2 separate regions of the Homo sapiens genome follow, and region 2 is linked to region 1. The links are contacts of gene promoters, found by promoter capture Hi-C in human tissues and cell types (Jung and others, 2019). All regions are on one chromosome and are shown on one strand. Each heading gives the region's core, a stretch centred on a gene start or on the middle of the fragment in contact. The rest is flanking DNA. Distances are from core to core; before and after follow the strand shown.

Region 1 (5,953 bases), core at 2,080-4,579:
TACTCTACATACCTCATGTAAATGGGATTATACAGTATTTGTCTTTTTGGGACTGACTGACTTCACTCAGCATAATGTCCTCAAGTTTTATCCATGTTGTAGTGTATGGCAGAATTTCTTTCCTTTTTATGGCTGAATGATATGCCTGTCCTCAAATTTTGACTGCTCTCTCCATCTTCCCTGGCTTCATTTCCTCCTCTTGTTCCTTAAATATTTGAGTATTCCAGAACTCTAATTTTCATCCCAGTTTCTTATCAATTTACACATGGATTTGCCACAGTTTTATCCATGCCCATGGCTTCAGCTACCATCTATAGATGAATAACCCCAAATCTAGCTCTCCAGCCCAAATGAGATCCAGGCTGGATGGAAGGTCTACAGGCAACTATCTCCAATGCAGTATATTCAAAAACAAGTTCATCTCTCTCTACAAAAAGCCTTTTTCTCCACAAAAAGCCTTTTTCTCCTGTATTCTCAAGGAAAGATACCACCATCTATCCTGTTGCTAAAGTATAGGGGACAATTAATTGCTCTTTTGCCTCCTTAGTGCCATTTTCACCTTATTTTTGTCACCTTACTCTGATTTCTCCCTGGATAATTACCTACTCCTTCACATTCAGTGCTAGTGTTTCAAGTGGCCTTCCTACTTAGATACATGTGACATACGTGATCTTGTCCTCAGCCAGTCAGTGCATAAGGCCTTGATGAGCTTTATACATATTAGTTCATTTTATTCCTACAATAACCCTATGATTTGGGTACTACAGTTATTCCCAATTGACAGGTGAGGAAACTGAGCCCCAGAAAATTTATGTAACTTGTTTAAAGCTGCATATTAAGTAAATGGCAGAGCTGGGACTCAAACTCAGGCTGTGCTCCAAGACCCAGTACATGACCACTCCATTACACAGTATGCTGCCTCTCACAGTTAGATAAAGAATGTGGAACTCAGCCAAGTATGGTGGTTCACGCCCAGCACTTTTGAAGGTCGAGGTGGGTGGATCACCTGAGGTCAGGAGTTCAAGAGCAGCCTGGCCAACATGGTGAAACCCCATCTCTACTAAAAAAAATACAAAAATTAACCGAGCATGGTGGCAGGTGCCTGTAATCCAGCTACTCAGGAGGCTGAGGCAGGGAGAATTGCCTGAACCCGGGAGGCAGAGGTTTCAGTGAGCCGAGATTGCACCCCACTGCACTCCAGCCTGGGCAACAGAGTGAGAATCTGTCTCAAAAAAAAAAAAATGTGGAACTGCAAACTGCTGAAAGTGCCCTGAATGACCCTGACCTAGCTGGGAGGTCAGAAGTCTTCTCGGAGAAAGCCACACCTGGGCACTCCTTGCATGAACCATAATTTAGCACCTAGTAATGATGGGAAAGGGGGTACCGAGTTACCAAGAGCAGGAGAAAGGACGAGCACAGGGTATAGTGAATTCTCTGGGGGCATGTTGAATTTGAGATGTCTTTGGATCATCCCCACTAAGCAATTAGATTTGTGAGTCTGAATTGCAGGTGTATTAAGCATTGTGTTTCCATTTGATAGGGATTTAAATTGATAAATGTTTGTTGAATAACTGAATGAATAAATACCCTCAAGGGTGGGATAGAGCTTTAGGAACCTTTCAGTTTATGCCCTGCAGAGATGGTGACTGTTTGGCTGTGCCAGTTCACTCCTGCCAGGAACGAGGATTCCATTGGTTGGCAACAGCCCAGGTAATGGGAGATGGGCTCCTTCAGCTCAGAGGTGCCACTTTTGTTCCCAAAAGGCAGCACACTTCCTGCCCTAGACAGAGAGGTCCCTCTGGCCCCTGATTCCTGCCCAGTCTGGCCTGGCAAAGGGCAGCCCAAAGAGTCTACTGAACTCTACAAATAACCACAGAATCCCACAGAGCCCAGCTTTGACCTTTCAGGGTATCTTCCCTTCTCCCTCAACCTGTTCCTCTGTTAGAGGAGGAAGGGCTGGGATTTGACATGCCCTTGCTTTCTGAGCCCTGTGCCTCTAACTCCCTCCTGGAATGAAATCTGAGTTCCTAAAGGGAGGAGGTTTCTCCCCATGAGGGGGTTTCTGTGTCCAATCACACCTCCCTGCCTGATGTTTGAGGCTGGATGAGCCTGGGATGCCTCATGGGTCTCTGAGCCCTAGGCGTCCTCTGGCCCAGACAGTTCCCAGGCTGTTGGGAACGCCATGTCTTCTACCTCCAGAGTGAATTTCTCTGGTTTGTAGGAGGTGCCTTAGTTAGACCCAGCCAGGAAGCAGAGCTCCTATCGCCATACCTGGGCTAGCAGGGGGGCCAAGCCTGGCTCACCAGGCTGACCAGTCTAGCAAGATTAGAACATCAGAGCAGAGGCCAGGAACAGTGCTGGCAGCCAGGTGCTTGGCTGAGGCCCCTGGCTCCCTTAGCAGGTGGGACAGCTGAGCAGAGCTGCCCTGAGCCCGCCTCCCCTGCTCTTCCCCACTGGGAGGGAGGGCTGGCAAAGCCCTGGCTCTGCCTCCCTGCAGCTCTGCCACTCAGGTCTCCCATGGTAAGTCTCTCCTTCCCCAGCACCTGTCCATTCCTACCTTTTGGAAGCACCAGGAGGTGGGCCTGGGTCCTCTGCTGCCTCTTCAAGCCTTCATACTGGGCTCGCAGGAACTGGATGCTGAGTGGGGGCCCTTTCCCAGGGGCCTGAGTCCTGGAGCCCTCAGCCATTAAGTGAGACCTAAGCTGCCAGAAGTGGGGCAGGGCTGGGCACGGGCAGGGCAACCCCTCCATCCGGATCCGGGAGAAAAGCAAACACAGCTGGGTGGGGCAGGACCTGGGGAGGGGAGAGAGAGGGAGGGGGCAGTGAGGGAGAAGGAGAAGTGACGGGCAAAAGGAGGGTGGAAAGAGGAGTGGGACTGAGGAAGGAGATAGAAAAATAAGGGGGAAGGAGAAAGATGAAGGGGAAGAGGAGGTAGGGATAGGGAGAAATGTGGGGGAGGAGAAAGGTGGGAGACAGTGGCAGTAAGAGGAGAAGGAAATGTCAGAGGAAAGAAGGGGCAGCGAAGGGGGAAAGACTGGAGGAAGGAGGTGATAGTGACAAGCGGGGATTAATGGGGCGAGAGAAGAAAGAGAGGGAGGAAGATGGAGACAGGCAGGAGGAGGCAGGGAAAGGAGTGATGGGGAGTGGGAGACCGAGAAGTAAGGGGAGGACTGGGGGAGCAAAGAGAAAGGCAAGCCCAGCTGCTCAGAGCCCTTCAGGGGGGTCAAGAAGGTGTCTTATTCCAGGTCCTTCCATTGCTTGATCCTAAAGTTTAGAATCCAATTCCCAGTGCCACGGTGAAGTCTCCCCTTTCCTGGCAGAGCTGGGACTGGGGCTGGGGAGTGCTAAGCTCGCGCTCTGCTCACACATTTTGGACTGGAACGTGGCCACTTTTCAGCAAACCTGCCGGTTGGGTTTGCAGTAGTTCAAAGAACACCCTCGGGAGCTTCACAAGGTCGGTGCCTCTGGATGTGTGCCCCGCGGCCACACCCTAAAGAAACCCAGTAGCAAAGATCTCCCCAAGATCTCCACTCAGACCCCAACACACACCCCAGGTGAAAATTCAGCCCTAAAGTCAGCCATGGGACAGAGCCCAGGGGAATCTTGGCCTCGGGCCAGCCCTACCCCTTGGACATTTGGTGCAGCCTCTGCCGTCTCAGCATTCTCCAACCAAGTGGTAAGTTAGGCATCCCCTCACTCTCTGCTTGCCAGCCTCAACATTTCCACATTGCTTTTGAATCCCAGACCCTCTCCCTCTTACACCAGCTTTGACCTAGCCTTGCTGCATTTGGTCAACTAAGTCCCTTTCTATCTTCTCCTATCACGGTGCTTACTGATTACCCAATTACCCAATATGTCTACAGAGGCAATGGAAACAGAGTAGAGCCTGAACCTACAAGACATTTTGGACATTAACCAGACAAGATCTAGTCATTTGATGTGGGGGAGCCGTGGAAGATGGAGAGCAAATCTTCACTGGGTAGTATATGTTAGTTTTGCTAGGGCTGCCATAACGAAATCCCACAAACTGGATGTCTTAAACAACAAACATTATTGTCTCAGAGTTCTGGAGGTTAGAAGTCCAAAGTCAAGGTGTGAGCAGGGTTGGTTTCTTCTTGGAGCTGTGTGAGAGTATCTGTTCCATGCCTCTCACCTTGCTTCTGATGGTTTGCTAGCAATCTCTGGTATTCTTTGGCTTGCAAAAACATTGCCTAATCTCTGCCTTTATCTTGACATGATGTTCTTCCTTTTTATTTTTTTATTTTATTTTTTTTTTGAGAGGGAGTCTCACTCTGTCGCCCAGGCTGGAGTGCAGTGGCGTAATCTCAGCTCACTGCAAGCTCTGCCTCCCGGGTTCGCATCATTCTCCTGCCTCAGCCTCCCGAGTAGCTGGGACTACAGGCACCCGCCACCGCGCCCAGCTAATTTTTTGTATTTTTCGTAGAGACAGGGTTTCACCGTGGTCTCGATCTCCTGACCTTGTGATCCGCCCGCCTTGGCCTCCCAAAGTGCTGGGATTACAGGCGTGAGCCACCACACCCGGCCTAATATGATGTTCTTCCTATGTGGGTGTCTCTGTGCCCAATTTTCCCCTTTTTATAAGTACAGCAATCACATTGGATTAGAGCTCAATCTGTCTCAAAAAAATACCGAGAGAGATAGCCAAAGCTTCCTCATACCTTTTTATCGGTAGATCACTCTATCATGAAGGCAAGAGCAACCCATCCATGCTGGACCAGCTGCACCTGCCATGAAATCATGGCAGTAGACATCATGGCAGTAGGCTGGCCACAATGGCTCACAACTGTAATCCCAGCACTTTGGGAGGCTGAGGTGGGTGTATTGATTGTGCCCTGGAGTTCAGGACCAGCCTGGGCAACATAGTGAAACTCTGTATCTACAAAAATTAGCCAGGCATGGTGGCACATGCCTGTAGTCCGAGCTACTCGGGTGGCTGAGGTGGGATGATCACTTGAACCCAGAAGCTCGAGGCTGAAATGAGCCATGATTGCACCACTGTACTTCAGCCTGGGTAACAGAGTGAGCTCCTGTCTCAGAAAGAAAAGAGAAGAGAAGAGAAGAGAAGAGAAGAGAAGAGAAGAGAAGAGAAGAGGAGGAGAGAAATAATGGCAGTAGAAATTTCTACTATATTTTCGCATTTACTTGTCAGCCTTCATCTTTTAGTATTAACAGTTTTTGTCTTTTTCTATATGGGTGCGTTTGTGGATATTTTGATGAGAAGTAAATTGAGGCTGTCTACTGCTGATTGAATGCCTTTTAGGAGCTTAAATTCCTTCTTTTAGTTCATATAGTTCCTCTTTCTTTTAAAACTCAAATCTTTAATCCATTTGAAATTTATTTTGGTGTTGTGTTAGGTATAAGGCAAGGATCTAGGGGTTTTTTCCTCCAAATAATTGACCAGTTGTTTCAATAGCACTTACTGAATAAACTTTCCTTTCCTTGGTCTGTGATAACAATAACAATAGTATAAGAAAAAACTGGCAACTCTATCTCATCCCAGGGAGTCTTCAGAAATAAATGAAAAAAGATGATCAAGCCTGGAGTTTGTTCTGGGTGGCTGCCACTAAATGGGTGACTTTCATTATCCAGGTATATCCTTCAGAGGAACTGGAAATAAGCTTCAAAGTTGTTCAGGGCTGGAGACGCTGGAGTAGGAATAAGATGTCTTGTGATTCTAGGGAATATTTTGTTTTTCTGTATATATGTAAACTGTATGGAACATGAAATGTCCCATTCTGGTTGAGAGATAAGACTGTGCTTAATGTAGCAGGTTAGTTCATTACCGGAACCAGCATCCCTACAGCCCTCCCTGGAGCTTCCAGTAAAATAACTTAGACCAGAGGCTCCAGGTCCACTCCTGTCCAGGGGATCCAGCTATTCTGTGAGACTTGAGTGGCAACAGGTATCACTCACAACTGGGGTACCACTCCAG
Region 2 (6,208 bases), core at 1,597-4,096, 42 kb before region 1:
CTATGTTGCCCAGGCTGGTCTCAAACTCCTGGCCTCAAGTGATCCTCCTGCCTCAGCCTCCCAAAGCATTGAGGTTACAGGTGTGAGCCACTGTTCTCGGTCCCCAAAAGTCTTCTTTCCTTTTACACAGATTTCACAAATATATGTGCTATAAATATGTGTGCTATGAGAAGGCATAATATTTTTCTCTTTTAATTTTTTTCTATTTTGTCCATTTTTTCTTTTTGCTGAGAAAGCACAATATTTTTCATATTTTTATTTCTGTATTTTATTTTGATTTTAAAAGAATTATTTCAAATATACAGAATTCTAGAGAGAATCATTCGTTCATTCATTTAACAATTTTCAAGGCTCTACTATGTGTCAGGCATTGTTCTAGGTTCCAAGAATACAGCAGTCAACAAAACAAGTTCCTGATATCATGGAACTGGCATTCAGAATAATATAAGATAATAAAATAATAAAACCCACCTACCCAGCTTTGTCCATTCTTATCATTTCATGATATTTAATATTTTTAAAAGAAATTAGTATTGCAAATACAATTTAAGCCCTCTCGTACTTCTCCCAGTTCCCTCCTCCCTTACAATCTCGCAGAGGTAACTATTTTTGAGCTTGTTGTTCATCATTTCCATGCATGGTTTTATACTTATACTACAAATGTGTATATACATAAACAACACCTTATTTTTGCATGTTTGAAGACATTCTATAAGCGGTAAATCATGTTGCAGTATCTTCTGCTCCTGACTTTGTTCTGTCTGCATTGTTTTGAGATGTGTCCTTGTTGATCACTGTGGCTCTGGTTCATTCTTTATAACTGCTGTATGGTATTCCATTGAATGAATATATCACTATTTATTCAATCTTCTGTTATGGAAATGTAGACTATTTCCAGTTTTTCTTACCGTTAGAAATAATGCTTTTATGAATGTTATTATACATGTCTCTTTATGTACCTATGGAAGAACCTGTCTCTATATTTAGGAGTAGAAGCACTGGCTAGTAGCCTGATACATCCTAACATTTACTAGATATTGTAAATTATTTTTCAAGTTGGTTGCATTAACCTGTAGCATAATAAGTTTTTTGGTCTCTCTATTTAGCCAAAGAATTATATTTAAATATAGAGCTGACCTGCTGATTATCAGTAATTTTCTTTCATAAGATATCAAATGAATACTGAGAATATCATTCTGTACCTTCTTTAACGTCTAATTGTGGTTCTCATCTGGAGGATGGCAGTTTGAGAATTAGGACTAAGCCCGTCTCCCCTTTGAGTCCATTTAAAACAATGAAAATCTGGTCAAATATATCCAAGGAAGATAGAGTTGGGCCCACTCTGTCTTCAATTTAAAAGCAGGTTGGAAGATGAAATATAAATATTAATATGAATAGGGTGATATTATTTAACATATCTGTCTTTTGTTTCATATGTCCAAATTAAAATTTTCTATATTGATTGCTTTCAAAGTTAAGCAATTCACTTGAATTCCCTAAGCATTAGAGAGAAAAATTAATATTAAAGGGTTGTTGAGAGATAATTGTTTTTTATTCCCTACCAGACCTGAATGTGAATTTGTGAAAACAATAAAACTTTGTTTATTTATTTAGTTTACTTTTTTTTTTTTTTTTTTTTGAGACACCGTCTCACTCTGTCACCCAGGCTGAAGTACAGTGGTGCGATCTCAGCTCACTGCAGCCTCTGCCTCCCATGCTCAGGCGAGTCTCATGCCTCAACCTCCTAAGTAGCTGGGACTACAGGTGGCAGCCACCATGCCCAGCTAATTTTTGTATTTTTAGTAGAGACAGGTTTTCACTATGTTGGCCAGGCTGGTCTCGAACACCTAGTCTCAAGCAATCTGCCTGCCTTGGCCTCCCAAACTGCTGGGATTACAGGCTTGAGCCACTGCACCCAGCCACAATAAAACTTTAAATCAGATCGTTTTTTGTTTTCCCTTTTCCATTTCCATGGGGAGTGTTGATTGCTCTTCTCTGGTGTGTCTCCTTCTGGACTCCTTACAGCCATTGGGCAGCCAGATAGTCTGGTGGCCTCAAGCATCAACTCTGCACCCAGAGTGCAGAGTTCAAATCTTGGTTTTGCCTTCTGCTAACTGGGTAATTCTGGGCAAGTTACTTAACCTCCCTGTGCTTCAGGTTCTTCATATAAAAAATGGGAGTAATAACAGCATAAATGTCATAGACTAGTAGTGAGGATTCAAACAGTAACATCGTACTTAGGACATGAGTATGACATTATTAGAGCCCCAGAGACATATGCCTTTTTGCCCAGAAAATAAAGGAATGAACTTTAGAAAGTGAAGTTAATATGCAGTAATAAACAAGTAATAAAAGCTCTAAATTTGCTAGAGATTCACACACACACACACACACACACACACACACACACACACACACACGTCTGAATTAATTACAGAACAGATACTCATTCAAATACCTTGATTTTTGAATCTTCTGAAGACCAGTTGTGGTGCAGCTTTACTCCCAGACACCCCTGGGTCATAAGCCTTATGAACCCAAAGACAGCTTTATATCAAGATTGCCAGGTATTTCAGTAAGGATGTTTATTTTCTTGTCTGTGCCATTACTAGAGGCTTTAGATTTCACTAGAAATTTATTGTATGGCCATGGTAAGTGATTGTATGACCATGGTAAATGGGCATACATACTAGGGGAATGAATTAAGAAAAGAGAGCTCATTGTTGGTATAAGTGAATTACTGGGGCTCTTGACAAGTAGATGTCCAAACCCAAGCTATACTAAACGTTTCCATAATTATGAGTATTATTTTTCTGCCCATTATACTTTTCGTCACTAAACTCCATGAGGGAAGGGACTATTCTATCCTCAACACGAAGCACTGTGCCTTATACTTGGTAGGAAACTAATAAATATGTGTAAATTGGATTGATAGATGGCTTGTAACAAGAGTTCCTAAAGAGCAGAGCAAACTCAATTTGCTCAAGTTGTTTGAGAATTAAAATAGGGTTTAAATAACAAGACAAAGAACATTCCAAGAGGATGGGGACCATAGTTTTTAGAACTTTAGATTTATTTTTAGCTTTGATGTAAACCTTTCTGTTTGTATCTGCAATCTGAAAGGCAAAGAGATGATCCTTTTATACAATGTAGAGTTCTTTATAAAACGCCCTATTTGTATGCCACTTCATAATTTATATATCCCTTTCACATGATGATAGAAATAATTATTCCATCATAGTTTGAGAGCTTACTATGTGCTGGGAACTATACTTTACATACATTGCCTCATTGATTTATCCGTCCAACTTTATGCTGTAGTTTTTATGATCCCCATTTTACATGGGGATACTGAAGCACAGGGGTAAGTGACTTTTCCAAGGTCATGAGGATTTGAAGTAGACCTGCCTGGACTTCTGAGTCCACAGTGCCTTCTGAGAAAGCCTGTGAAGTGGGGTAGCTGTGTTCTCCATGTTATAGATAAGAAATGTGAGATAAAAGATGAACAACAAAGGACAAAACTGGAAATAGAGCCCAAGACTTCCACGTGCAGTCCAGTGCTGTTTTTCAGTTCCATGCTACCACACATTAGACTATTAGAAAATTTCTCTATTTAACTATACAGATTTGGAAGCATGCTTTCCTCCTACTAATTTGTTATTCGTAGATATCTGTGGATATTGAGTGAGTGACCGTGATATGCTTACATACAAAACACATTATGCAAAACACACATGGCTTGTGTGCTTAACAATGCATCATTCATTCAGCAAACGTGACTGAGGAGGAAAAGGGGAGGCTTCACAGAGGAAGATATGTTGAAGCTCTGGGTGGTCCATTCCTTTGACAAAGGTGCAGAGAAGCAGGTTGAGATGGACCCCCGATCTCCCATCTACCCACAATCTGCTTATGTCTGGGCTCCCACCTCTGCCTGTAACTGCATCTCCTTGCTTCTCTGGAGTTGCCAACTGTATTAGTCCATTTTCATACTGCTATGAAGAAATAACCAAGACTGGGTAATTTATAAAGAAAAAGAGGTTTAATGGACTCACAGTTCCACATGGCTGGGGAGGCCTCACAATCATGGCAGAAGGTGAAGGAAGATCAAAGGCACGTCTTACATGGCAGCAGGCAAGACAGTGTGTGCAGGGGAACTGCCCTTTATAAAACCATCAGGTCTGGTGAGACTTATTCACTATCACGAGAACAGCATGGGAAAACTCGCTCCCACATTGAATTACCTCCTATGAGTCCCTCCTGCTACACAAGGGGATTATGGGAGCTACAATTCAAGATGAGATTTGGGTGGAGACACAGCCAATCCATATCACCAACATCACTGTCCCTTGCCTAACTGATTATATTTAGAATGAGCAGTGCCTTCATTGCAGTTTGCATAATCAACCAATGTTGGCTCTACTGGACTTTTCTTCAAAATCAGAAACTGTACATCCTAAGCAAATGCCAGAACAATTGGCAAGAATGCCTGGACTTGTTTTCTGCATGGTCATGAAATAGAACCATTTTTCATATGTTGGCAACCTAAATGCCATTAATCTGGAATCTCTTCTTGATCAAACTGAAACTGGACCAGATAGGCTGAAGTCTCCTCTCGGGATTCCACAGACTGCCCTAGTGAATGGGAGGAAGGGAGGCTCTCCCTCAGTGGTGGTGAGCCTACTTGTCCTTAGTGTTGTCACCTTTCATTTCATTGATTAGCATGTGGGGTCTGAAGTTGCATCAGAATGCTGAGATTGCTTCTATTGATCCAAGAACTTTTTTTTTTCATGTAATGGCTTTTTTAGTTTAATTTTGCCAAAGTAGGTTTTTATACTATAAATATCATCATGGCTTATATAGGTTTGCAAAGCTTGATGGACTGAATCCACACTGGTCCCATTGTTTGGAATTATTTTCTGGTTTGCTTGTTTATGAAGAGACTAAGACCATCTATAGTGTGCTGTCTAATATGGTAATCACTAGTCACATGGAGCTATTCAAATTAAAATTAATTAAAATGAAATAAAATTAAATATTTAGCTTCTCAGCCACACTAGCCCTATTTCAAGTGCTCAATAGCCACGTATGGCTAGTGGCTACCATACTGGATAGCAGAGATACGTTTTCATCATTGCATAAAGTTCAATTGGACAGCACTGATCTGCTGCGTGTAGGGATCTGCTTTATCTGAAAACTTGATGCAGAATCACGGCTAGTTCAAAGAAACTTGCAGAACATTTCATGAAAATTAAATTTCTCTATGGTGAAAACTAGGGGTCAAGTAGCAGATGAATACTGGCTGTGAGATGAATGCATAACCAGAACCTCCCATTCCCCTTTTTCCAGCGTCTCTCCTATCTCCCAGCAGTGCTTTATCACTTTCTCCTCTCAAGTTGATAAAGAGAAAGGAAGAAAGAAACAGAGAAGTCGGTTTATGTTCATAATTAACATCCATGAACTCTGCATAATTTTTTCCCCTCTCTTTACAGGTCCTCGAGGCCACACGGGTTAATCGAAGAAAGAGCGCACTGGCTTTGCGCTGGGAAGCAGGGATCTATGCCAACCAGGAGGAAGAAGACAACGAATAAACTTCCTTCAACCCAGGAAGCGTCTTTGGTGCTTGGGAGACCAAGAAACCAAGAAATTAACAACTGAAAGCATTTTAATGGACTATTTATTAAAGTGCAAACAAACTCAGCAATCCTTATGTAGACCAGAAGCTGCAATATACAATGATGAAAATGAAACGAAAAGGAAGTCCCCCCATCAGACTCTGGACACCCAGGAATCAAAAGAGAAAGGACTTTTTTGGTGACTCAATCCCAGTGTCTGGTTTGGGGCCAATCTACAATGGATCCAAAAGGACAAAACATGTTACAAGCAAATCAACATAGTTGCTGCAGGCGGAACTGAGACCAGCCTCTCTGGGCGATGAAGGACAATGGTGGTAGGGCCACTTAGAGAGCAGTAGGGCCCAGGCTGGTGCAGCCTACATGGCACAGGATATTTCCCTGCACCAGTTTCCCACCTGTCACTTGCAGCATCAGAGGGTGTTGCATTAACTCCATTTTCTCCAGCAGCCATAAAATGAATGGCGTTTCTCTCCATATTTGCCCAGAAGAGGCAGTTATGATTCCACTTCTCCTACATTTAATTATTTTTAATTGAGAACAACTCATGATCACAATTCATAAAATCCATATTTTAA

The links. The method cuts DNA at HindIII sites, captures the fragments that hold promoters and counts their contacts. A contact is called where the count stands out against the background at its distance.
Region 2: a fragment that was not itself captured here is called in contact with the fragment with the promoter of C9orf152 in region 1 in 2 of the 25 tissues and cell types used here (adrenal gland and aorta).

The regions. Positions count from the first base shown.
Region 1 is chr9:110,204,830-110,210,782 of GRCh38, forward strand. C9orf152 (chromosome 9 open reading frame 152) reads right to left here and starts at 3,330. Exons shown (of 2, transcript NM_001012993.3): 1 at 2,558-3,330. The coding sequence starts at 2,750. RefSeq lists enhancers at 1,999-2,499, 2,500-3,000. The HindIII fragment of the contact is 9,571 bases long and covers 1-5,153 here.
Region 2 is chr9:110,162,910-110,169,117 of GRCh38, forward strand. It overlaps PALM2AKAP2 (PALM2 and AKAP2 fusion), which reads left to right. Exons shown (of 11, transcript NM_007203.5): 11 at 5,490-6,208. The coding sequence ends at 5,588. Among named protein-coding and RNA genes, the nearest start is that of C9orf152, 42 kb to the right of the region's middle. The HindIII fragment of the contact is 7,446 bases long and covers 1-6,208 here.